Linked DNA regions of Homo sapiens: all the other regions are linked to region 3. The links are contacts of gene promoters, found by promoter capture Hi-C in blood cells and fetal thymus (Javierre and others, 2016). All regions are on one chromosome and are shown on one strand. Each heading gives the region's core, a stretch centred on a gene start or on the middle of the fragment in contact. The rest is flanking DNA. Distances are from core to core; before and after follow the strand shown.

Region 1 (4,865 bases), core at 952-3,451, 170 kb after region 3:
GCCAAGGAGAATTATTTCCAGCCCTGAAGTCCTAGTGTAGTAACTTCCAATGTGTGGTCTGCTAGATTTAAGAATTGCTATGTGCTAGTGACTCCTGTGTGCCTCCTTTTATTTTTTTTCTAAACAGGGCCTCACTATGTTGCCCAGGCTGGCCTTGAACTCCTGGACTTAAGTGGTCCTCCTGCCTCTGCCTCTCGAGTAGCTGGGTCTACAGGCACACACCACCACAAACAGCTCTATGTGCCTCTCTTCTCGAATTGGGAATGTCTATAATGGTTATCTTATGCTTCTCACACTGTTGTATGTTGCAGGGTACAGAGATACAGAGATACAGATAACTGCCTCTTTAGTTCACATGTCTTCAGATCAAGCAAAACTATTCTCAAGAGCTGTACTTGAGGAGCCTTACCCTAGAAGCCTCATCTGAACCTGATTTAGATGATGAGATTCTGGACTTTGAGCTTTAATAAGATGAGAATTTTGGAGGCTGTGGGAGGAGGTAAGAGTATTTACATGTGGAAAGGATATAATTTATTGGGGGCCAGAGGGTGAGCTATGATAGACTGCCTCCTACATGGCCCCATATGATATCCCCTCCTGCTATTTACACCTTTATTTAGTCCCTTCCCACATCGAATAGGGAAGACCTGTGTAGCCAGTAGGATATTGTAGAAATGATAGTGTGTGCCTTCTGAAGCTTTAAAGACATTGTGGCTTCTGTCTTGTTCTTTCCAGGATTACTTGCTCTGGAGGAATTCAGCCACCATATTGTGAGGACACTCAAGCAGCCCTGTGGATAAGCCACATGGTGAGGAAGTGAGGCCTCCTGCTAACAGCCAGTCCCAATTCCCCGTCTATGTCAGTGACTCATCCTGGAATCAGAGCCTTTTGGCAGTGGAGCCTATAAATGGCTGCAGCTCTGATCAATAACTTGGCTACAATCTCATGAGAAACCTCAAATCTGAGCCATCCTGCTAAGTAAACCATTCCAGAATTACTGCCCCACAGACACTATGTGAGATAATAAATGTTTATTGTTGCTTTAAGCCACTAAGTTTTTTAATAAACTTTTTTAATAGAGATGAGGTCTTGCTCCATTGCCCAGGCTCATCTCAAACTCCTGAGCTCAAGCCATCCTCCCACCTCAGTCTCCCAAAGTGCTGGGATTACAGGTGAGAGCCACCACACCCAGACTGTTTTTTAATAATTTGTTATGCAGCAATAGATAGGTAATACAAATGGTCATCCATTCTTTATTTAAATCCTTCCAGGATCAGAGAATTCATCTATTCATTCATTCAACAAACAGTTTAATAACTGTTGGTATCTACTCTGTGCTGGCCAAATAGTTACCACCCCTCCCTGTGGGAGCATGGTATCTCCCTAAGCCCATCAAGTCTGAAGACATATTTGATCATGTGATTCTCTGTGGCCAATAAAATGTGAACAGAGGGATATAAGCCACTTCTGAGCAGAGGCTTTAAAGTCATTTCTCAGTTCTGCCATCACTCTTTTTCCTGTGCCTCAAAACCAGCAGTTTCATAGCTGATCTTTCAGCCTGAATCCTAGAATGAAAAAAACATAGAACAGGCTCACACCTACTGCAGGCAATGTGCAACATTAATAAGAACAACCCTTTTTATTATAATTATTATAAGCCACTGAGTTTGGTACCTGTTTGTTACTTGGCATAACCCAGCAAAAGCTGACTGATACAGTCACACTGCATCCAGACCTGGTGGGATGACTTTTTTATCTGAGTCTTCTTTATCCTGGCTTTCCTCCTCAGAATGCTTCCTGGTTCCTAATTGTTTCTCAAAAATGTGCCTCCCAGGAGTCAACATGATGGAGTCTGATCAGCCCAGGGCATGTTGGCCTTCCTTTCCAAGACCTGGCTGTCAAACACTCACAACATGGCTCCTTGAGACTTGGGAAACTTTGTTGCCTGGCAGCCTCACAGCCTGGAACACAGAGCTTCCCACATACAGCTAGAGAAGAATGCCTCCAGGGACCAAAATGACGTCATGAGTCCACATTCTAAAGCTTGAGAACTTGTCCCTGAGGACAGATTTCTAACCTCCTTAGAACCTAATTAGGCTTCCCAACCTGCAATCTAACGAGCTTGGTGATGTGGCTGCCAAGTTTACAGCAGATTCAAAGGTATGAATTAAAGATAAATCAAAATGCCAGGCAACCCAGCAGAATCGACGAAACAAACAAGAGTTGGCTGAGCGCCAAATGGTGTCAGGCACGACCCATCTCACAACCATCTGTAAAATAGGTATTAATGTGCCCATTTTACAGGAAAGGAAACTGAGGCTCAGATAGGTCACTAATTTGACAAAGGTCACAAGCTTGTCAATAAGGATTCAAATGGGCATATGGTAGAGACGATATGAATGGCAGCTCCTGGTGCTGATTTTGGCATTGGTGCTGGTTGAAGGGAAGGCAGAGCCAGCGGGGAGGAAGAAAACCATGAGATGGGAGGGTAGGGGGAGATTTTCAGTGGAACAAGGACCCAAGTGGAGAAGGGATGAGCCCCGGGGTATGGAAGAGTGGGGTACAGGGGAGGAGGGAGCACCTGGGAGCCCAGGGAACCCTGGAAAACCATCCCCACCTCAGAGAGGGCCTTCCTTAGGGCAGGCCATCCCTCGCTGTGCTCCCCAGAAGGCCAAGCCCTAGCCTGGGTGACATGACCTGGCCACTGCACTGCACTGCCTTCCCGGGCTCACACAGCGCCAGGCTCTCACAGGACCATTTGTTGAGCTCTAGGAGTCTGGACCGATTGGCACATATGTATGGACCAGGACAACATCCAGTGCCAGGTTTATTGCTGCCAAGCCAGAATGGAGACTGCTTATGCCCATGGAAATGAACTTGCCAGTGCCGGCCCAGGCACAAGAGCTGGACAACTGCCCCTGGTGGGGGCTGCCCCTTGGAAGAGAGCAGAGGTGCAGCTGGCAGACAGGAGGGCCGAAGAGAGACGGACGGAAGCAGCTAGTGATCCCCTGCTCGGGACCCTGCTTCTGTCCAAGATCGCCTGGGTCCCGTTTCCTCCCGAGGAGGGCACAGAGAGAGCCCCAGGCATTCCTTCACCTGTTCTCTCCAGGGAGGCCCAGAGGCTGCACATTCCCCTCAGGACAGACAAGTGTCCGGCCCAGCACTGCGTGTGGGCACAGACAGGAGGAGGAGTTGGGGCACCAGCATTCTCCATCCAGACACCTGACTAAGACCAGGACCACCTGGCATTTTGGAAACCTTGATGAACACCTTCCCAGGGTTTATCTAAATTATTCTTTTTAACTTTTATTGTGGTGAAATATGTATATCGTAAAATTTATCATTTTAGCCATTCTTAAGTATACAGTCCAGTGACATTAAGTGCATTGTTGTGTGACCATCCCCACCATTCAGCTCCAGAACTTTTTCATCTTCCCAACCAGAACTCCACACTAACCCCCCATTTGCCCCTCCCCCAGCCCCTGGCACCCACCATTCCACTCTCTGACTCTATGCATCTCACTCCAGGTGCCTCCTATAAGTGGAATCCTACAGTATCTGTCCTTTCATAACTGGCTCGTTGCACTTAGCACGAGATCCTGAATGTCTATCCACGCGTAGCATGTGTCAGAATTTCCTTCCTTTTTAAGGCAGAGCAATATTCCACTGTATGGATAGGCCACATTTTGCTTAGCCATTCATCTGTTGATATGGTTTGGCTGTGTCCCCACCCAAATCTCATCGTGAATTGTAGCTCCCATAATTCCCACTTGCGGGAGGGACTCAGTGAGGAAATAGTTGAATCATGGGGGCGGTTTCCTCTGTGCTGTTCTCGTGGTATTGAATAAGTCTCATGAGATCTGATGGTTTTATAAGGGGAAACCCCTTTTGCTTTGTTCTCATTTCTCTCTCTTCCTTGCCGCCACATAAGACATGACTTTGCTCCTCCTTGCCTTCCACCATGATTGTGAGGCCTCCCCAGCCATGTGGAACTGTGAGTCAATTAAACTTCTTTCCTTTATAAGTTAACCAGTCTTAATTAGCTGGGCGTGGTGGCGGGCACCTGTAATCCCAGCTACTCAGGAGGCTGAGGCAGGAGAATTGCTTGAACCCGGGAGGCAGAGGTTGCAGTGAGCCGAGATTGAGCTGTTGTACTCCAGCCTGGGCAACAAGAGCAAAATTCCATCTCAAAAAAAAAAAAAAAAAAAAAAAAAGTTAACCAATCTAAGGCATGTGTTTATCAGCAGCATGAAAACTGACTAATACATCTGTCAATGGACAACTGCACTGTTTCCACCTCTTGCCTATTGTGAAGAATGCTGCTAGGAACATGGGTGTACAAATCTCTTCAACGTCTTGCTTTCCATTGTTTTAGGTATATACTCAGAAATGGAATTACTGGATTATATGGTAGTTCTATGTTTAATTATTTGAGGAACCACTATACCATTTTCCAAAGCAAATTCATCATTTTACACTTTCCCCTGAAGGGCACACAGTTACCAAAGTCTCCACATCCACGCCAACATGTGCTGTTTTTTTTTTTTATTATAGGCATCTGACTGGGTGTGAAGTGGTATCTGGCTGTGGTTTTCATTTGTGTCCTAATGATTAGCGATGCTGGGCATCTTTTCATGTGCTTTCATGTTTTTCTTTGGAGAAATGTCTATTCAAGTCCTTTGCCCATTCTTTAATTCATTTGTTTTTCATTGTTGAGTTGTAGGAGTTCCTTATACATTTTGGATATTAACTCCCTATCAGGCTGGGCGCATTGGCTCACACCTGTAATCCTAGCACTTTGGGAGGCTGAGGCGGGTGGATCACCTGAGGTCAGGAGTTCAAGACCAGCCTGGCCAACATGGCAA
Region 2 (5,319 bases), core at 78-2,577, 140 kb after region 3:
ATACCCTGTCTCTGGAAAAAAAAAAAAAAAAGATACACTTGGGGAGAACACTCTGTTAAATTCGTGGTTCTCCAATAATGCCACAATGCATCAATGCACATGGTTTTTGCAGGGGCCACACTGGTGTGCTCAATAGAGTTATGACAAAGACCCTCCTTCTGCATTCTTTTTTTTTTTTTTTTGAGACGGAGTCTCGCTCTGTCGCCCAGTCTAGAGTACAGTGGCGCGATCTTGGCTCACTGCAAGCTCCGCCTCCCAGGTTCACGCCATTCTCCTGCCTCAGCCTCCCAAGTAGCTGGGACTACAGGTGCCCGCCACCACGCCCAGCTAATTTTTTTGTATTTTTAGTAGAGACAGGGTTTCACCGTGTTAGCCAGGATGATCTTGATCTCATGATCTGCCCGCCTCGGCCTCCCAAAGAGCTGGGATTACAGGCGTGAGCCACGGTGCCCAGCCTCTTCTGCATTCTTAAGTCTCTGAAGATGGCACTAATCTCTGTCCTTCCTCCACAAATGCAATATTGACTGTGTCGTATTCTGGGGCAGTGGGGAGGGGGATGCAGGAGAAAGGCAGTTTCAGGGGCTTCCATCGGGCCTAACGCTACAGCTCACACGCTATAGGTCAAGGAACCAACATGAAGGTTCTCCCACCTGCCAGGAATTTCTACTCCATTTACACATTCAGGAGCTGGGGGAATGACCACATGGTACGTCTCTGGACACACCGGAGGCCTATTGTGAGATGGACCTAGGCCAGGACTCCATTTATTACCTGGTTCCTATTACATCTTTACTCTATGGTTAACATGACAGCCTTTGGGTCCCTGGGTGTCAATGTCAATCTGAACCCTATATCCAAAAGTCCCTGAAAGATCTGGGAAACCCCCTTGTGGCAGCCCTGGAGATGCCACTCAGCACCCCCTTGCCACAGGGCAGTGAGCTGACAGCCTCCACAATGGGTGACAGTGTTTGAGCCAAGGTCATGCTGCCCCAGGCAGCTCCCAGCCAGTGCCTACCTGCAGCAGGGGTAGGAGACCCTGGCATTCCTTCCCAACGTGGGACTCCTCTTTGAGCAATCTTGGTTCCAGAGCCCCTGCTGGGCTGGCCAGACTCCCTCCAAGCTGCACTGCAGTCCAAGGCTTTTCCTACCCAATCCTCCTTCCTTCCTCATCTCCTCTCACAGGTGTCAGACCCTCCTCAGAGCCTGAAAGTCCCCAGCCCCCTCCTGCCCCCTCCTTTACCTGTCACAGGTACTACCTCCATAAATCCCCTGCTTTTCTAACTCCATCCACCCAATTCCCACAGGACCAGAGCTGGCCATGCCCTCTTCCCAGTGTACGGCTGCTGGAGAAAATGGCTAAGTTCCCTGTTATGTGTTGGATCATGCCTCCACCATTCCCCCGGTACTGGGGAAATCCTGATCCCCAGGACCGTGAATGAGACCTTATTTGGAAATAGAGTCTTTGCAGATGATCAAGCTAAGATGAGGTTATTAGGATAGGCCCTAATTCATTACGACTGTGTCCTTATAAAAAGGGGAAATTGGAGGTGGGAGGATCCCTTGAGGCCAGGAGTTTGAGACCAGCCTGGGCAACACAGCAAGACCCCATCTCTAAAAATTTCTAAAATTAGGCTGTCGTGGTGGTGCACAACTATAGTCCAGCTATTCAGCAGGCTGAGACGGGAGGATCGCTTGAGCCCAGGAAGTCGAGGCTGCAGTAAGCCATGATCGTGCCACTGCACTCCATCCTGGAGTGTAGACAGAGTGAGACCCTGTCTCAAAAAACAAAAAATGGGTGGGGCAAGGAGAGAATTTGGACGCAGAGACAAGTAAGCACATGGGCAGAACATCACGGGAAGATGAAGGCAGAGGTCGGGGTGATGCATCTCTAAACCAGGGAGCGCCTAAGACTGCCAGGGAGCTAGAAGAGAGGCAGCGCAGACACCCCTCACGGCCCTCGGAGGGAGCCAGCCCTGCTGATGCCTCAATTTTGGACTTCCAGTCTCCAGAACTGTGGGAGACAATGCATTTTTTTTTTTTTTTTTGAGACAGAGCCTCGGTCTGTCGCCCAGGCTGGAGTGCAGTGGCACGATCTTGGCTCACCACAAGATCTGCCTTCCAGGTTCACACCATTCTCCTGCCTCAGCCTCCTGAGTAGCTGGTACTGCAGGCGCCCACCACCACGCCTGGCTAATTTTTTTTTTTTTTGTATTTTTAGTAGAGACGGGGTTTCACCGTGTTAGCCAGGATGGTCTCGATCTCCTGACCTTGTGATCCGCCCACCTTGGCCTCCCAAAGTGCTGGATTACAGGCGTGAGCCACCGTGCCTGGCCAGGACAATGCATTTCTATTGTTTAAGCCACCCAGTCTGGGGCAGGTTTTTACAGCAGCCCCAGGAAACCGATACAGTCCTGGGGGATGGTATGGCTGCGGGGTCCTTCCTCTTGGGACCTGCCCCTCTTCCACTGATGGATTCTGAGATTGAGAACAAGTTCAGATTTGGAAACAGCAGGGGATCATTCCTTTCTGTTGGGGCATCCGGCCTTGGACTTCTGCTCATCGATTCTTGGTTGCTTTTCATTCTATTTGTTGAACAAAATCCTTGCCGGCTGCCTAGACACCTTCCCCCTGGAAATGCTATGTCCTATGAGCCATCTCCATAGGCTGGGCAGGGCAGGCTCCCCCGCGGCTGTCCCAACCCTGCTGTCCATTCTGATCCTCTCACCCCCTTGCTTGTGACAGACAGTTAAGTGCTGCCCTTTGACCTGTGCTACTCGGGAATCCAGTTGTCCCTGTGGCTATGGGAGAGCTCAGATCCATGGCAGCCCACCCCTGCCAGGCCCGGGCAACCCTCACAGGGCTGCTCAGCAACGCCAATGTCTCCTCGACAGCTCAGGCCTTATCATTTGGGTAAAGAGCTGGAACCTTCCAAAGAACATGGCCAGCTGGTGGGTTTTCCACCCTGTTTCGTGGTGAACAGGTCTGTGCAAATCTACCTGCAAAGGCCGAGGGAGCTGAGAGGCTGAAGAAAGAGGCTGACAAATCCAGTTTCTTGTAAAGAAATATTTAATAGGGACTTAGGAGCAGAAGCGATGTTCCGGGCTGCCACAAAATGGTAGATCCCCACATCTGCCCTGCAGAAAGTACTTTTATGTAGCAAGCTTTTAGGGTAAAACATGTGCAGGTGGCCATATCTCCGATTTTAATGCAAAACTCATAGCCACTTGGGGAGGGGGTTAGCTAAGCATCTTTACAAAGGGTTATGTATGGTACAGGCATTGTTTAAAGAGCTTACTGCAGAGCAGCTTGGTATATGGGGGTGAAACATTCATCATCATATGGCGGTTTTAAGATGGCATCACTCTTGTCACACTGTTTTCCTGTACAACCTACAATAGAAGAGCCATTCTGGCGTGTCCACTTCTCTGAGACTTTGCATACCTTCCTCCAGGGCTGTTCTGACATCTCCACTTCATCGCCTATGCACTATCACTTCTTCCAAGCTTTCAAGAACTGCCTCAAGTGCTGGGCACTGTGGCTCACACCTGTAATCCCAGCACTTTGGGAGGCCAAGGTGGACAGATCACTTGAGGTCAAGAGTTCGAGACCAGCCTGGCCAACATGGCAAAATCCCATCTCCACTAAAAAAAAAAAAAACAATACATTATCTGGGCATGGTGGTGCATGCCTGTAATCCCAGGTACTCGGGAGGCTGAGACAGGAGGATCGCTTGAACCTGGGAAGTGGAGGTTGCAGAGCCAAGATCGCACCACTGTACTCCAGCCTGGGCGACAGAGAGAAATTCTGTCTCAAAAAAAAAGAACCCTCCCAAGCAACATATTAGAATCTTCCCAGGGCCTTTTTAGGGGTTAGGGAGTCTTTCTGTACTAATTAACTCTCCAGTCTCCAGCTACTATGCAGCCTCCCTTGATCTAGAACCTTCAGAGTCCACATCTAGGAACATTCTCTAGACCCGGCTGGTCCCTGCTGGCTTGCTCCCACCACTCCTCTGCTTGTTAATCCCTCTTGGTCCCTGGCATGCAAAGCACATCCTTGGTCAGGTCATGCTGAGATATGATCCAGCTTTGAGCCTGGTGGTCAGGAGGGGAGGTGGGGACAGATGCTGGAGAGAGGAACTCCTTATCTTGTAAGGTCCCTTCCCTTAGTTTCTGCATGGTCTTTAAGCAAAAGAGGACCTCTGTCTTCCAACAGAGGCAATGGGTCACTTCTGCAGGCCAGGAGGTACAGGAGAATCTGGGGGTTCAATGTCTCAAGAGTGTCTCCTCAGATAGTCCATCTCAGATATCAGGGACCCCACCCTTCCCTTTGGGGCCCTGACTTTGGAGAAGGGACTTCCCTGGGCTGGAAATTTGGCCTTCTCTGGAGTCCTGCACCTTGTCTTCTGCCCTCTGACCCCTGGCTATAGAAGAGAAGCATTTCGTTAAATTCTGCCAAGGAATCCTGACTTTGCTTTAAATTGGTGATGCGTGGCCCTGAACTTGTCATTTTCCCTCTTCTAAGTGTCAGTAGTATTCAGTGACAGCCTCCCCACTCCACGTCCTTCTCACGGCTATTTTCCCATCTGTCTCTCAACATCAGTGATATTAAACGAGCCGGGCATCCCCGTCCACCTGAGTCCTGTCCCAGGTGACCACAGGCGGAGGCCTGAGCAGCTGCTCTGCCACCTCGTGCCAGGGGCCTCCGCAACGGGCTCCAGTCACCAGGGGCCAGCGGGGCATCCTCCTGCAGCATCCCGTCCTTGGGGCCAGCTTCCTGGGGCCCCTCCTGCTGTTCCCTGCCTTCAGCTGTCTGAAAACAGAGCCCAAGACAGGGATTTACTAGGGGAGGGCTCATCCTGGGACAAGCCGCCCAGGATGTGAGGGCAGAGGGGCGGGGAAGGAGAAAGGACTCGGTAAAGGCGTGGTCCCAGGGTAAATACAGCTCTGGCAGATATGCAGGGGGCCCTGGGGCAGAGGTATCGCCATCTAGAGGCAGGCGAGGGAACAGTCTTTTGTACAGTTAGCCGTGGGCTGTGGGCGTCGCCTGAACGTACCAGGTATTGTGGCTCCATTGGCTGAGGATGCTTCTCCAGCGAAGGAGGCAGGGAGCCGGGGAAGTGGGGTGGGGTCGCGACACCGACAGCAGCTGCCAGACCAGCCATGCTGCGCTCAGCTCCCTCAGGCTGTCACTCTTAATCATCATGTCACTATCTCTGGGGCGTGTCAGTCACCATCAACGACGTGTCCCCCAAGCTGCAGAGGACGCAAATCCAGCTCTCCAAGAGGCTCTGTTGGCCCTCTCCACATGGGCTTGAGGTCA
Region 3 (4,718 bases), core at 14-2,513:
AGCTGACACCCTCACCCCTCTCCCAGAGGTTGCTTCCCTCCTGTTCTTTATAAAGAGGTTCTTCCCACTTGTTGGGATGAGCTGCCCCTCTCTGCTTGCCTGGCTTTGCCTGGCGCCCCATCTGGGAGGCAGCCTGGGGTAATCCCTTACTCTGTGTGCTTTGGTCTCGGGGAATCCAGTGAATTGTCACTGAGTCCCCCTGCTGCTGAGTTGCCTGGAGTCACGGCTGACAGGTCAGCAGGGCCAGGACAGGGTGAGGCCGGTGAGTGTCCAGGTGCCAGCATTTAGAGGTGCCCGCCCAGGTGCCCCCCGCACCTCCAAGAGCCTGGGCTGGCCCCATTTGTAGACTGATCCCTGCCGCCCACTTCCCTGTGTGTGGCTGACGAGGGGCTGAGAGGCTCGAGAGTGAGTGGGGCCTGGGGAGGTGGGTCCCTCCCAGGACTGGACCTTTGAGTCTGACCCACCGTGATCCATGACTGACCTCCAAGGTGGTGGGACTCGAGTGGCTCTGGGGGAGGCCCTACCTTGGCCACGATTGTGGAGGTGAAGATGCTGCGGTCATAGACCCAGCCATCCACACACGGCTCCGTGTCGGCCTCGCTCCAGCTGGTGGCCGTGGCATTGGGGTCCAAGAGCTGCCACTGTGGCTGGCGGAAGCGGCGGCACTGGTGGGGCCTCTGGTTGGGGCCCGGCGGGATGGAAATAGCCAGGAGGGCCTCAGGACTCAAGCTCCCTAGGATGCTGGCCTGAGCCGTGCTGTTGTCCAGGAGGGGTGCCCAGCAGCGGTGGCTGGGCACGGCGGCCGAGAAGTTCTCCAGCATGCTCTGGGTACACAGCCACATGATGGAGACCATCAGAGCCATCGTCTGGAGAACCTGGAACCTGCCCAGGCCACCCACGAGGTCCAGGAGTTCAGAAAATGCCATGGAACCTACTCAAGGGGCCCAGAAGAGGGGCCCACTTCACAAAGGCTGGCCCAGGGCAAAGAGGCCAGGGCAACGGGCCTGTTTCCCCCACGGTGGTGCCCACAGTGGCTTCTCCAGCCCAGCGGCTAGGCTTCACAGACTCGGGGCCGGAGGCTCAGGCTCTCTGGTCATCTGCCTGCTGGTGTCACTTGGGGTGGCTCCAACTGGGCCCTGAGGCCGCGTGAGGTGATTCCGAGACCTCCAGCATCTCCCCAGAGAGGCAGCTGCTCCAGACCTCCCGGGAAAGCTGAATTTGGAAAGTAGGGAATGTGGAGACTGAAGACTTTAATTTTAGACTGGAATTAAAGTGTGACCGGTGACACTTATGGAATCGAGTTTAGCAATCATTTCCTTGGTCAAAGTTTAACCCGCGTTGAGGCAGGCACAGACGCGAGGGAGGTGCAGCCTCCTCTGCTTGGGGGCCAGGGCCGGCCTGCTCTGTGCCAGGTCTTGGGGAGGCCTAAGTTTTTCTCCTGGCGGCTGTGGGATGCCAGGGCTGCCTGCTCCCTTCGGTGCCCCTGTGTGCCCACCTCCCAGAGTGGCTGAGCCAAGAGAAGGTGGGCCAGGGGATCCCCCTAATTTGGGGCTGGGGCAGCTGTGCAAGTCTCTGTGTGGGCTTGGGTCACTGGCAGCTGCCCAGCCCCTGCGCCTCCCAGGCTGTGTGGCCTGGCCCCACCCGTGGCTCCTGCCTCCACTCACCTGCTGTGGTTGGCGTCCTGTGCCCGCTTTGCTGTTACCCTGTCCTGAGTCCTCGGTGGAGCTTCCCAGCATCAACAGACACCCCACAGACTCCCCAGGTTCGGTGTGCCCAATGCCACCCTGAGATCTCTGTCCCCTCCCCAAATCTATGCCTCCTGCAGAGCCCCACCTCAGCTATGGCCTCTCATGTCACAGTGTCTGGCCTGGAACCCAGCGTCTTGGTTCACGCCTCCTGCTCCCTGCCTCCCAAATCCACCAGGGGCCAAGCCTGGCTAGTTTTGCCTCCTAAGGATTTCTCTCTCCCACCTCCCCCACTCCACAGCTGTCCCTGCCCTTGTCTTTCTGCCTCAACTCCTGCCCCTGGACCCACCACGCACTGCGAGCCCTTGGGTCAAATCCTGCTTAAAAGCCAAGGGGCTCCCAGTCAACAACAGCTAGTGGTGACTTACTAGGGCAGGTGAGTGGACAGCAGTGTGTGCTGATGCAGGGTGTGGGGTTCAGGAAAGGCTGGACCGAGGCCAAGAGAACCCCCTTGGTCTCGATAGCTAATTCTGTAGGCGAAAGGGCCAGAGAACACAAAGCAGTTAAAAAGTGTGTGTGCATGGCCGGGCGTGGTGGCTCATGCCTGTAATCCCAGCACTTTGGGAGGCCGAGGTGGGGGGATCACTTGAGGTCAAGAGTTCAAGACCAGCTTGGCCAACATGGCAAAAACCCATCTCTACTAAAAATACAAAAGTTAGCTGAGCATGGTCGTGGTGCACAGCTGTAATTCCAGCTACTTGGGAGGCTGAGGCAGGAGAATCTCTTGAACCCAGGAGGCAGAGGTTGCAGCAAGCTGAGATTGCACCACTGCCCTCCAGCCTGGTTGACAGAGAAAGACTCTTATCTCAAAAAAAAAAAAAAAAAGAAAAGAAAAAAAAGAAGTGTATGTATATGTGGGTGTGTGCACATGTCTGTGTATGTGTGCACATGTGTTTGCACAAGTGCATGTGTGTACATGTGTGCATGCGTATATGTGCAGTGCAGCAGTGATGGCAACCCAGGTGTTTGCTCTTATGAGCTTTGGGCATAAAACTCTCCATTTGAGGCATAAATGCCCCTCCCATCTGCTTCTTTTTGCTTCACCGACTCTTCCCGCTGCCCCTCCACATGGCTTACCAAGCCAACTTCTTTGCCTCCCTGGGCTCTGCACCTTGAGTCATCCACTGCTTCCACCACATGCCCTGTACATGCTTTCTCAGTTCCCACCCTTGCTTATGTTGGACCTCCAGCCTGGAATGCTGTCTCCAGGCTCACCCTTAGGCCACATACTGTGTGGAATGGGCACAGTCCAAATACTCCTCCTCCAGCGGGCTCTCTTCACTTATTCCTGCCTACAACTAGGGCTCAGAGTTGTCAGTGGAATCTCATCTTTACACTGTCCTGCATTCTTCTCAAACTCCTGACCTCAGGTGATCTGCCTGCCTTGGCCTCCCAAAGTGGTGTGAGTTGCGGCACCCAGCCATGACCTGCATTCTTCTATTATGGTCCAGTTGGTCTTATTTCCAGTGAGCTCCTGGTAGTCTGGAACCCTTCTTTAGAGGCTCTTTGGAACTGATTTGGACAACAAATAAAGGTTCCATGGAGACTTGCTGAAGTGCATGGATGATTTTTTTAAAAATTTCATTTATTTTCTAATTATGAAATAATTTACACACTTCCTCAAAAATTCAGAACATATTGAAATGAAAATAAAGATCCCTCATATACTCATCAACCAGTGAGTTACACTACTGTTTACAGTTTGGTGTAAATATGTGCAGACTTTGTTTTAGTAACTGATATGTTTAGCTTCATCAGCTTGAGCTGCCAAATAAGCTTTACATTTCCTTTTGTAAAATCCAAAAGAAATACCTCTGCCTTTTAATTAGCGATTTTAACCTGTTCACATTTATTGTAATTATTGACATGTTTGGACTTACTGTATGTTTTCTTGTTTACCACATTTTCCCTTTAAATCTTGGTTTCCTTGTTCCTAATTTCTACTGAATCCATTAAGTTTTCTTGTTATATTCTTCTACTGTCTTGGTCTGTCAGTTGTACGTTTTATTTCTGTTACCCTTATATTTGAACACACAAACCAGGGGTTATTTGATACCATCTTCTCTCTTCAAACCTACCACCTTCTCTTCTATCCTCTCTCTCAATAGATGACCTTTTTTCTTATTTCACTAAAACAATAGAAGCCATCAGAAGCCAACAGTCTAATTCTCTCACCAGCTCACCTGCCTTGGTGCCCCCACATTCTGCCTTCCTTCCACCCAGTTTGGTTTCTCTCTCATCCATGCCAACCCCTCACTGTGTGCCTAGAGCCCACCCCCCTTTGCCTGCTCACATCTCTCTTTGGCATTTGTCTTTCCCTCGCTACTGGATAATTTCCACCAATGTACAAATATGCCATTTTTTTCTGTAGCCTTCCAAAAACTCCCCCTCCATTTGAGCCCCTCTTTCTTCTTAAGCGACTGCCCCACCTTTGCTTGTATTTACAACAAAATTCTATGAAAGTATTATTGACACTCATTTCCAGTTTCTGTCTTCCCATTTTTTTGTTTGTTTTTGGATTCATTCCCATCAAGGTTTTGCCCCTATCACTCTGCTGTCACCAATGACCTCCATGCTGCTAGATTCAATGACATTTTCAGTCCTCATCTTACTTGAGCCATCTGTCTCTGATCTCCATCTGAGAATACTTTCTTCCCTGGGCCTCCAGGACTCACTAGTTCTCAATCTTCTTGGTTGGGTTTTCCTCTTCTCCACACACTGTTAACATTGGAGGCCACTGAGCTCACTCCTTGGTCTTCTCTATATTCTCTATCATCTGGTCCATTCACATCTTTAGCCTGTACCTCTTCTTGGAATGCTAGATTTTGATCCAACTGCCTAATCTTAGGTGCTTAATAAACATCTCACACTTAGTGTGGCCAAAGCTGAGCTCTCCCAAAAAAATGCTTCTCATGCAGCTTTCTCCACTTTTTTTTTTTTAAGTTGAGTCAGAGTCTTGCTCTGTTGCCCAGG
Region 4 (5,020 bases), core at 2,518-5,017, 230 kb after region 3:
GAGGATGAGGCAGGTGGATCACTTGAGGTCAGGAGTTCAAGACCAGCCCGGCCAACATGGTGAAACCCCGTTTCTACTAAAAATATAAAAATTAGCCAGTCGTGGTGGCCTGTGCCTGTAATCCCAGCTACTTGGGAGGCTGAGGCAGGAAAATCGCTTGAACCCCTGAGGTGGAGGTTGCACTGAGCCGAGATCGTGCCACTGCACTCCAGCCCAGAAGACAAAGTGAAACTCCGTCTAAAAAATAAGAATCAGGTAGTTGTGAGGGTGAAATGAGTTCATGTCCGCAAAGGGCCGACACACAGTAGGTATTGACTGTTACAAAGTCCTGCTGGGCGATGACGCTGGCCAGGCCCAGCCCCTGAGTCAGTGCATTCTCGCATGGCCAGATTCACTCTGCACTGCACTCTAACATGTGTGTGCTCCTAACAAGTGAGCAAACACCCATGTGTGCTGATCAACCGTCCATCTGAATGACAGGCACACAGACTGTACAGGGACGGGGACAAAGAACAAAATGCCTGGGTGGGTGCTAAAAGCCATAAGTGTGGGTTTCCGTACTGATTTGGACCAGCAGGAGATCTATCTAGACCCAAGGTCTATTCCCAACTCGGCACCATTTACTGTGCCGTCGGGGGCAGGTCACCTGCCTTCTCTGGGTCTGTCCAGTGAAAGGACCGACCAATCCATTCTCAAATCCCTGACAGCCCCAACAGCCAATGAACCTAGAATCCTTTCTTTCAGGAACACATCTGCCAAGTTTCAGTGGGGATGGATGTGAAGAGAAACCTAGCTGACACACACTTGCTTTCTTTCTCTGGGGGGATTTCCAAATAAAGTGAAACTGGCCAGGCACAACCTCAACCTGGAACAGCAGCCCCACCTGGGTATGCACCAGGAGGTATGGGGCCCTGAGTCAGCCTCACCTGGAAGAAGGGATGGTTCCGGACTTCTTGTGCCCCCTGGGGCCCCGCGCCCAATCGCTTCTTAGGATCCTTACAAAGCAGCCGCTGCAGCAGGTCCTGCGCCACGGGCCCGATCCGAGGGGGGAAGGGAGGGGAGCACTTCAGGATCCGTCTGGGAGGATTGGGGGGGTGTCAGGGGCAGCAAGCCCCCCACCCACAGCCCTGCCCAGGCAGGCCCTGCAGCCCTCTGGCCGCCCTCCACGTCCAGCCCTACTCACCGAGACACCTCAGCCTGCGTGTTCCTCTCGCCCTCCAGGGTGAAGGGCGAGGCCCCCGTCAGCAGCTCGAAGAGCAAGATGCCCAGGCTCCACCAGTCCACAGCCTGCCGGGTGGAGCCGGGGTGAGGGCCTGCATCTCCCCTGCCTCACACCCCACCTTTCCACCTCCCCCAGCCCCACTTCCCTGCCAACCTACCTTGCCATGCCCCGTCTTGCTACGGATGATTTCGGGGGCCATGTACTCGATGGTGCCACAGAAGGAGAAGGTCCGCTCTTTCTGGGAGGGCAAGAGGTCCTGCTTAGATGTCGAAACCTCTCCTGTGCCCCAGTGCCCCACAAGGCCCAGAGTAAGACTCGCTCAACTTGTGAGGTTGGAGAGCTGAGCTGTGGAAACTTCTTGGAGCTATTCACTTCTGCAGCCCCAGAATGCAGGCCCAGAGCAGGAAGAGGCAGGAAGGAGAAGGATTGAATGGGGCACTGCAGGCAGAGGTGGCCTCCACTCACCTCCTCCGTCAGGAACTCCTTGCTCAGCCCGAAGTCCGTGAGGACAATGTGGCCCTCGGAGTCCAGCAGCACATTCTCCAGTTTCAGGTCTCGGTAAATGATGCCGAGCTGGTAGGAGCAAGAGGGGTGCTGAGGCTTCCTCCCCGAAACCCTCCCCAGCTCCTCCAGCTCCTGGCCCTGCTCAGGATAAGGAGACCCCCCAGAGAAAGTCATCTGCCTGTAGAGGGGGTCTCCAGGGCAGAGCCACTGAATAAGAAAGGCCATTTAAGATATAAAACAAAGAAGGAGGGCCCCGTGGATCAGGCCCCAAGGTCCCAGAGAGAGGAAAGTCTGTGTGAAGAGCTCCATTTCAAGGAGGCCTTAGGAGCCAGGCCGTGAGGTTTCCATTTGAGGAAGTTCTGTGAACGCAGCCCCGAGTTCCCTGAAAGAGGAAAGCCCCTTCGAGGAGGTGCCAGGGGAGGGGACCCCACCAGGCAACGTTGAGGCTTCCTGCAAGGGGTCCAGGGGAAGCAGCTCCAATTCCCACCCAGCTCACCACTGGCCCCCCAGGAAGCCCAGGGGGAAGCCTGAGGCTGCCCTGCGTGCAGATTCCTTCCAAGGCACAGACCCAGTTTCCATAGCAACAGCCTGCGGCCAGGTCTTCACCCACCTTGTGCAGGTGTTCCAGGGCCAGCACGATCTCACCCCCATACACGCGCACCTCAGCCTCCTTGAAGTACTGGCGCTGGTAGAGGTGGGTGAACATCTCCCCGCCGCTCACATAGTCTGGGAGGTGCAGTGGAAGTCAGGAAGCAGCCCCGTCAGGTGGCCTCGCCTGCCCCCAGCCACCCCAACCCCGTTGGGATGTGGTGTGCGCTCACCCAGGATGAGGTGCAGCTTGGCATCCGTCTGGAAAGCGTAGTGCAGCGTGACCAGGAAGGGCGCCTGGCGCACCAGCTCCAGCACCGAGCGCTCGGTGCGCGTGTGCTCTTGCGTCTTGGCGCGCTGCACCAGCGCCGCCTTGCGCAGCACCTTCATGGCGTACAGCTTCCCCGCGTCGTGCCCGCCCGCCTTCCGCACCAGGAACACCTTGCCGTAGGCTGTGGGAGCAGCGAGTGGGTGGAGGGTGGGCTGTGAGCGGGAGATTGGTGCAGGCTTGGGGGGTGGGGGCGATGCCAACCCAGGAGGGTGTGCAAATGAGGCGAAGGAGCTGGGGCAACAGGCAGGTGTGCAAAAAGCTGGCAGAGCCTTCTAAGGAAAGGGTGTGCACACCCCGGGAGGGTGCCCAGCAAAACCAGGGAAAGGATGTGCAAACCAGGCTGGGGAGCATGCATCTCCAGGGGGCCTGCTGCGAGGCATGGGGGCGGGGCATATGCAAACCTGCGAGAGATCAGATGGATGTGAAAAGATGCCAGTGCAAGGAAGGGAGGCAGAGGTGTGCACCTGGCTGGGGAAGGGATGCGCAAACCAGCGCTGGGGCATTTGCAAAATGTGGGAGGGGGATCCCATATTGGAAGAAAGGGAGGAGCTATGCAAATCACTTGAGAGGGGCGCCAGTCCCCCTCCCCAGGGTGTTGGCAAATCCAGGGGGGTATGCACGCACAGGACCGTGGAGGGAGGAGTGATGTCAATGTGGAGTGCCCTGGAAGTGGGCATGCAAACTCTGGCGAGGCAGGGCGGGGCAGGCAAGGCAGGCTGTGCCGGGAAAGGGTGGGGGGCCTGCTCAGTGGCCTGGCCCAGGCCCAAGAGTGAGCAGGCAGGAGGTCAGGGGCACCGCGCCTGGGACGCCTGCCCGGTGGATGGGGGTCCTCACCTCCCGTGCCCAGCACCTTGAGCAGCTCGAAGTTCTCCACGCTCACCTTCTCCTCGTGCCCGGTCAGGTTGGCTGTGGGCACAGGGGGCGAATGAGCCCAGCCGGTCCATGACCCGTCCCGGCCTGCCCCGGGCAGCCGCAGTCAGGCCCCACACCCACCTTCTGTGATCCGCAGCTCCACGGCGCAGCTCTCATCGTCGTCCTCGTCCCCCATGGCGGGCGGGTCGCTGGGGCCCGCGCGGCTCGGGCTCCGGGCGGCGCCGGTTACATGGCGGCTCCGGCCGGGGCGGGCGCTTCCTGGTGCCGCCTCCGGGGCCGAGGCGGGCGCCGGCACCGCCTCCCGGCTCCCCGCCCTGCGCGGCCTGAGTCAGGCGGCTGGAACGTGACAGCGCCGGGCTGCCGGTGGGCGGCCGGCTGGGGCCGCCCTGTCTCCCGAGCCCCCAGGCCAGGCCTCAGGGCCGTGCGCTCCGGGACCTTACTCGACTCTCCCGGGAACTGGAAACACCCCGTGGGAGCCATCCCTGAGCCCGTGGGTAACCTGGAGCCTCTGGGGCATTAGTCCCCAAGCCAGGAATCTGCCCGGGAATGCCGGCTGCAGCCAGTGGCTGGAGGACATTAGGAGTCTGTGCCCCAAGGTGGGGGACGAGGTGCCTGGTGCTGGGCAGGCTGAGAGGGGGTCTGGATCCTGGAAGTCACCCAACTCTCAGGCAGTGGAGCCCACCCCACTCCATCGTCCTGGGGGTGGCCAGCAGGGCCCCTCTCCCCAGAGGACTGGCCTTTGCAAGGAGGAGCCTCATCACCAAGAGGGGGCTGGAGCCCGGCCTGGGACCCCATGGCAAGGAGAGGAGTGGCCAGTTTTCTGACCAGCTTTCTGTCGGGGGTGCCTGCAGAAGCACTTCAGCCCCCAGTCACCGTGCAGAGCCCACCAGGTGCCATGCGCACCTCACGTGTTCTGCTCCTGTTGTCTCCTAGCCTGGTGCAGTACCCAGCTTAGAGCCCTGAGCAGGCCTCAAGAAGAGATGTCAGTGCCACACGGGGCTGCCCCCTCTCCCCATGAGGCCCAGGGCCCCTGCTGACTGGTCCTCCTGAGCCCCTGCTCCGTCTTCTTCCTGCCTTTCCCTTCCTGACCACCAATGGGGCCACCTAGCAGAGTGGGACAGCCATGAGGCCCCACACCCTGAGGCCGGTGGGAGGGGCTCTCAGCTCCTCTGCCAGCTGGAGAGGCCAGGGTGTCCACCCCACGCCCCTGTCCTGTGAAGCCCTGGCTGAGAGGAGGAGGAACTCAAGCTGCTGCAGGTCACACCTGGGAGGCCGGACGGACCGTCCCTCCCAGCTCTGCACCCCCCAAGTTCAGGCTGCCTTATCTCAGCCCTGGGCAGCTCCACCCTCCCCTGGGTGGCCCCAGGTACCCTGACTCACATCCTGCACCCCAGCCGAATTGCCCCGCCTCTCAGGCATCAGGCTAGAGGCCCTGGTCAGAGAGCCAGCGTCCCTCCCACCTCTCCTGGCAACCCCTGGCATTAAGTGATGCCCCGCCAGGC
Region 5 (5,302 bases), core at 2,392-4,891, 210 kb after region 3:
TAGGAAGGGGCAAGGCAAAAGGACATGCCTCTCAGCTTAGCCTCCTTTGGAGAGCTTTCCCAGAAACCATACTCAATAACCTTTGCTTACATCTTATAGGCCTATTTCTGAAAGGCTAGGAAATGTGATATTATAAAAAGCCCATTGACACCCAACACTATAGCTTTTGTGTTGCTAAGGAAGCTAAGGAAGACAGGAGTATAGAAAATACCAGCCTTGGCCATACTTTTTTTTTTTTTTTTTTTTTTTTTGAGACAGAGTCTCGCTCTTCCGCCCAGGCTGGAGTGCAGTGGCACGATCTCGGCTCATTGCAACCTCCACCTCCCAAGTTCAAGTGATTCTCCTGCCTCAGCCTCCAGAGTAGCTGGGATTACAGGCATGCACCACTATGCCTGGCTAATTTTTGTATTTTTGGTAGAGACAGGATTACACATGTTAACCAGGCTGGTATGGAACACCTGGCCTCAAGCGATCCGCCCACCTTGGCCTCCCAAAATGCCAGGATTACAGGCATAAGCCACTGCACCTGGCCAGCCATACTTTCTACAGAGCTAATAAAACTAAGAGGATAGGGGCCCAAACTAATCTCCCTCCTGGATGCTTGTGGAGAATAATACAACAGTGATTATGACATCAAAAAAGAGGAGGCAAAGTGTCAGATGTTCTCAGCCCATTCTACACCTGGGATGCAGCACTGTTTTGTGGTGCTTACCTTAACAAATCTGCTATCATATTCCGCTGCTGACAGCCGGTGGTCTACTGGGACCTCAGCGTCTTCATCTCTTGAGTGTTCACACAATTGATTCCTCCTCACCCATCTTTCATTTGTGTTCTTTGCTTTTCTCCTTGAAACAGTTTAATTTCATGGGCTGCATGATGATGTTTTGGACAGTGTGGGACCATATATTCCATGGTGGTCCTATAGGATTATAATGGAGGCTGGGTGTGGTGGCTCACACCTATAGTCCTGGCACTTTGGGAAGCTGAGGTGGCCAGATCACTTCAGGCCAGGAGTTCGATACCAGCCTGGCTAACATGGTTGGGACTTGGGAGGCCAAAGCAGGAGGATTGCTTGAAGCGAGGAGTTTGACTACAGCCTGGGCAACATAGCAAGAGGTTGTCTGTATGCTTTTATTTTTTGAAAGAAAGGAAGGAAGGAAGGAAGGAAGGAAGGAAGGGAGGGAGGGAGGGAGGGAGGGAGGGAGGGAGGGAGGGAGGGAAAGAAAGAAAGAAAGAAAGAAAAGAAAAATAACAAAAATAAAAGATTATAAGGGAGCTGAAAAATTTTTCTCATCTAGTGATGTCATTCATAGCCATCATATCATCATAGTGCAATGTGCCACCTTTTCTATGATTAGATACATTTAGATACGCAAATACCATTCTATTCCAATTGCCTCTGCTACTCAGCACTTCCTGCCATACAGGCTTGTGGTGTGGGAGCAATCAGCTGTACCATCTAGCCTAGCTGTGTTGCGGGCTACCCATCCAGGTTTGTGTAAGTGCACTCTGATGTTCACACAGTGATGAAATCACCTAACAATGCATTTCTCAGAACGTGTCCCCATGGCTAAGTGACTCATGGCTGTATTCTGGAATCTTGTCATTCCAGACCACAGTCTTCACATTGAGGTACCAAGTTGTGGATCAGAATGGAAAGCTAGGCTATGATGAGGGACAGTGCGCTGTCACATGACTGACATGATTTATTTCACAAAGACAGCAAATGGAGCTGCCATGCCACCTCCAGCAAAGAGAGCCCGGGGCTGGCGTCTATGGAGCTCTAGGCTCTGCAGAGTCGGAGCGAGAACCAGATCCTTGGGGCAAAGAGAGCTAAAACGGATTGCAGAGGAAAGCGAACCACCACACATCTGCTAGAAAGAAATATCTCTTAGGCAGGAGATAACCTTGAGAGGCAGCATAACCGCTCAACCACTGTGGTTAAGGGCTTAGTTCTCAAGTAGGGAGGCCCAGGCTCTAGGGCCAATGCCTGTGGATGCCTTTGTGTGACCTTGGACAATTTACTTTCTCTCTCCAAGCCTCATTTTCTTCATCCACAACATGGAAACAATTGCAGATGATGATAATGTAGAACCTGTTCATGAAAGGAAATTATAGACAGTGCTGGGCCCGGTGCCTGGCTCCTGGTACAGAGAAGGATTCAGTAATAACATTGGCCATGACTATTAACAACAGCAGCAGCAGGGATCCTATGTGTGACCTTCTACCTGTGTGGCACAGGGCCTGGCACATCATGAGGCTCAATAAATGGGCTCAACGTCATCGCTACTCTTGTTGTTATTAAAGGAAATAGCCAGAAAGTGCTTCCTCTTTCCACAGGCAACCACGGACACTTTCTCTGGACTTGACTCACTCAGGCAAGAAGAACCTTCCGGGCTGAGCTTCCAAGCCCCAGCCAGGGGAGATGCAGGGCACGGAAGACCCCGCTGAGGCAGATTGGAGAGCTCGGAGCTGCAGAGTCTGTTTGGCATCTGCAACTCTCTCGGTGGAGAAACGCCTGCCCCCGCTAAGCAGTCAGTGCCTGCCTGGTCTCACTGGCTCCCAGGCAGCTTCTCCCCACCTCCCCTCTGTGTCCAGTGTGCTCCCGGCAGCCTGCCTTATGACAGGTCTACAGGGACATCTGTTGGTGAGCAGGCCCTGCCAGATACCTGTTGACCCCCGCTGGGCAGGAAAAATAACACAGAGAGGCTCTGAGGACCTGTGAATGGTGTGGTGGGAGTGGGGGACATAGCAGACACCCCTTACTCTGTAGAATACCAGCTTTCCACTAAAGTGGGTGATGGCAGGGAATTCTGGCAGAGAATACTGGTTTCTGAGAGCTCCTAGTATAAAATTGGATCTGTGTCCCTATGGAAAATTCCACATTACAGCAAGTGTGGCCCAGGGAGGGAGAAAGCCTCAGCTGGGCATCACGGGAATTGGTTTTGCCAGTCGGCAGCCCTGTGGCTCTGGCTAAGTCCCTTCCCCTCTGTGCCTCGGTCTCCCCATTAGGAAAGTTCAGGAGGTTCATGAGATGAGATCTGTGGCTCCATAGCTTGAATATACACCATGGAAGGTTGCTTTTTGGTTGTTTTTGAGACAGAGTCTTGCTCTGCCACCCAGGCTGAAGTGCAGTGGTACAATCATAGTGCACTGTAACTTTGAACTCCTGGCCTCAAGCAATCCTCCTGCCTCAGCCTCCCAAAGTACTGGGATTACAGGAATGAGTCACTGCACATGACCCTGGGAAGCTTTTTAAAAAGCAGATTCCCAGACTGCACTCCCTGAAATTCTGATTCAGCCGGTTACAGGGGGCCCAGAAACCTGCCTGAGGCTCCTCCCAGAGGACCCCACTCCCTGGCTGCCTCTCAACCTGCAGTTTCAGGCATCCCAGGGTGTCCCACTGTCTCCCAGGCCCCAGGGAGAATCAGAAAGAGTGGGGGCACCGCAGGGAGCAGGCAGGAGGGAGGGGTCACAGAGGCCCTGGCCTGGTGACTGCTGTCTTCAAACCGCCCAGAGCAAACCCACAGAGCTGGCCCGCGCCCCGCCCACCTTCGGTCCAGTGTTATGGGGGAAGCTGTCAGACGCCAGCATCAGTGTGAGGTGCACTTATGGAAACTGCCCTCCCTGACTTTCCCGCTGAAAAGTCCTTAGCTCTGAGGTTTTCAGGAATCTGAAAGGAAAGGCTTCTTTCCATGAAAATGTGCTGAAAGACCACTTCACACCTGCACCTACGCGCCGTCCTGTGGGAGCCAGCCTGAGTCGGCCTGGCTTGAATGGCAACAACCTCCATGCCTCACTCATCCCAGGGGCCCTCCTGCCCTCTGCCTAGGAGGTGTTCCAAGTGCTTGGCATGCATTACTTGACCTTATCTTTGCAATGCCACGAGGCGGCCAACATTATTGCCTCATTTCGTGGATAAGGTTACTAAGGCACAGAGAGGGTCGGTAATTTGCCCAAGGTCACTTAGCTAGGAATTGATGGAGATGGGTTTCACACTCCTTCAGGGAAACTCCTGAAGCTAAGCTTTGAGACCCGCTTCATCTTCTAGCTTAGAGATATAGTCACTACTATTTTCAGCAGAGCCCTTTCCAAACAGAATCTTATATTTGACCCCAGCATAAGAAACACATCAAAGCAAAGCCACTCTGGTTGAAGCGGAGGGACTATCCAGCCATCCAGCCTCCCCTTACCCTGCTCATGGAGACCTCCTCAGAGCACCAGGGTTCTGCAGAACTGAATCTAAGAGTCAATAAAGAAGCCATGGCTCAGAGAGGGAGTGTGCCTTGCCCAAGGCCACACAGCCTGCAGGTGGCAGAGCTGTTGTGACACATGCAGCATCCAGAGAAACACGGGATGTGCAGGGCAGCCTGAGAAAGGGGCCCTGCACACCTGGCCAGCCCACCCTGAGCACCTAGATGGGGAGAGGAGAGCAGTGATGGTCTGGGTTGACCCCAGGCAGGGGGCTTAACTGGGGTTGCTAGGGAATGGCTGAATCTACAAGTATATTCACTTGTTCACTCAACAAACATCGCCAGAGTACCTACTATGTGCCAGGGATGATGTGGCACCAAGGATACAATGGTGAATGATGAGGACAGTCTCGTCCCTCCCCGCCATGCTCATATCCCAGGCAGAGAGACTGATAATTAAACAATGACAACAGGCCAGGTGTGGTAGCTTATGCCTGTAATCCCAGCACTTTGGGAGCCCGAGGTGGGTGGATCACCTGAGGTTAGGAGTTCGAGACCAGCCTGGCCAACATGGTGAAACCCCATCTCTACTAAAAACACAAAAATTAGCTGGGCGTGGTGGTGGACACCTGTAGTCCCAGCTACCTGGGAGACTGAGGCAGAAGAATCGCTTGAACCTGGGAGGCGGAGGTTGCCATGAGCTGAGATCATGCCACTGCACTCCCGCCTGGGCGTCAGAGCGAGACCTTGTCTCCAAAAAAAGAAAAGACAATGACAGCAACACACAGGGACGGCTGCTTCGGTGGGAACTGCTGCCTACTGACGGCACAAAGAGTCGGGGCTTGTAGGCTAGTGGAGGGGTCAGGAGGGGCTGCTCTGAGAAATAAAGCCATCCGAGCATTGACGGATGACATGGCATCAGCCTGGCCAAGAGAAGGGGAAAGCGTGCCCCACAGAGGGAACAGCAAGTGCAAAGGATGAGCACAATGCATTTGAGGACCTGGAAGAGGTTTGATTTGGCCAGAGCAGAGCCCATGGCAGGAGATGGTGAGAAAGGGGACTGGAAAGGTAACAGGGGCCAGGCTGCATGAGTCATGGAAAGAGGCGTG

What was found. The method cuts DNA at HindIII sites, captures the fragments that hold promoters and counts their contacts. A CHiCAGO score of 5 or more calls a contact.
Region 1: a contact is called between a fragment that was not itself captured here and the fragment with the promoter of SLC22A12 in region 3, in 1 of 17 cell types (M1 macrophages). The highest score is 6.2, in M1 macrophages.
Region 2: a fragment that was not itself captured here is called in contact with the fragment with the promoter of SLC22A12 in region 3 in 1 of 17 cell types (M0 macrophages); the score reaches 5.4 in M0 macrophages.
Region 4: the fragment with the promoter of RPS6KA4 here is called in contact with the fragment with the promoter of SLC22A12 in region 3 in 2 of 17 cell types (M0 macrophages and monocytes); the score reaches 7.0 in M0 macrophages.
Region 5: a fragment that was not itself captured here is called in contact with the fragment with the promoter of SLC22A12 in region 3 in 2 of 17 cell types (M1 macrophages and M0 macrophages); the score reaches 7.1 in M1 macrophages.

What each region holds. Positions count from the first base shown.
Region 1 is chr11:64,417,432-64,422,296 of GRCh38, reverse strand. It overlaps LOC105369341 (a long non-coding RNA gene), which reads left to right and starts at 2,082. Exons shown (of 4, transcript XR_001748069.2): 1 at 2,082-2,160; 2 at 3,932-3,994. It overlaps LOC124902689 (a long non-coding RNA gene), which reads right to left and starts at 4,161. Exons shown (of 2, transcript XR_007062720.1): 1 at 1,675-4,161; 2 at 1,227-1,565. The HindIII fragment of the contact is 311 bases long and covers 2,046-2,356 here.
Region 2 is chr11:64,449,387-64,454,705 of GRCh38, reverse strand. LINC02724 (long intergenic non-protein coding RNA 2724) reads right to left here. Exons shown (of 2, transcript NR_073177.1): 1 at 5,054-5,319; 2 at 3,049-4,809. Among named protein-coding and RNA genes, the nearest start is that of LINC02724, 3.0 kb to the right of the region's middle. RefSeq lists a silencer at 4,929-5,124, a cis regulatory region at 4,902-5,171 and an enhancer at 5,061-5,310. The HindIII fragment of the contact is 3,672 bases long and covers 1-3,163 here.
Region 3 is chr11:64,587,765-64,592,482 of GRCh38, reverse strand. It overlaps SLC22A12 (solute carrier family 22 member 12), which reads right to left and starts at 1,263. Exons shown (of 10, transcript NM_144585.4): 1 at 525-1,263. The coding sequence starts at 926. The HindIII fragment of the contact is 38,603 bases long and covers 1-3,523 here.
Region 4 is chr11:64,357,909-64,362,928 of GRCh38, reverse strand. RPS6KA4 (ribosomal protein S6 kinase A4) reads right to left here and starts at 3,767. Exons shown (of 17, transcript NM_003942.3): 1 at 3,639-3,767; 2 at 3,480-3,551; 3 at 2,548-2,766; 4 at 2,337-2,452; 5 at 1,688-1,795; 6 at 1,380-1,460; 7 at 1,184-1,287; 8 at 927-1,077. The coding sequence starts at 3,693. RefSeq lists enhancers at 2,372-2,481, 3,215-3,742 and a silencer at 3,492-3,981. The HindIII fragment of the contact is 11,991 bases long and covers 1-5,020 here.
Region 5 is chr11:64,382,776-64,388,077 of GRCh38, reverse strand. It overlaps LOC124902688 (a long non-coding RNA gene), which reads right to left and starts at 971. Exons shown (of 2, transcript XR_007062718.1): 1 at 713-971. The HindIII fragment of the contact is 775 bases long and covers 3,254-4,028 here.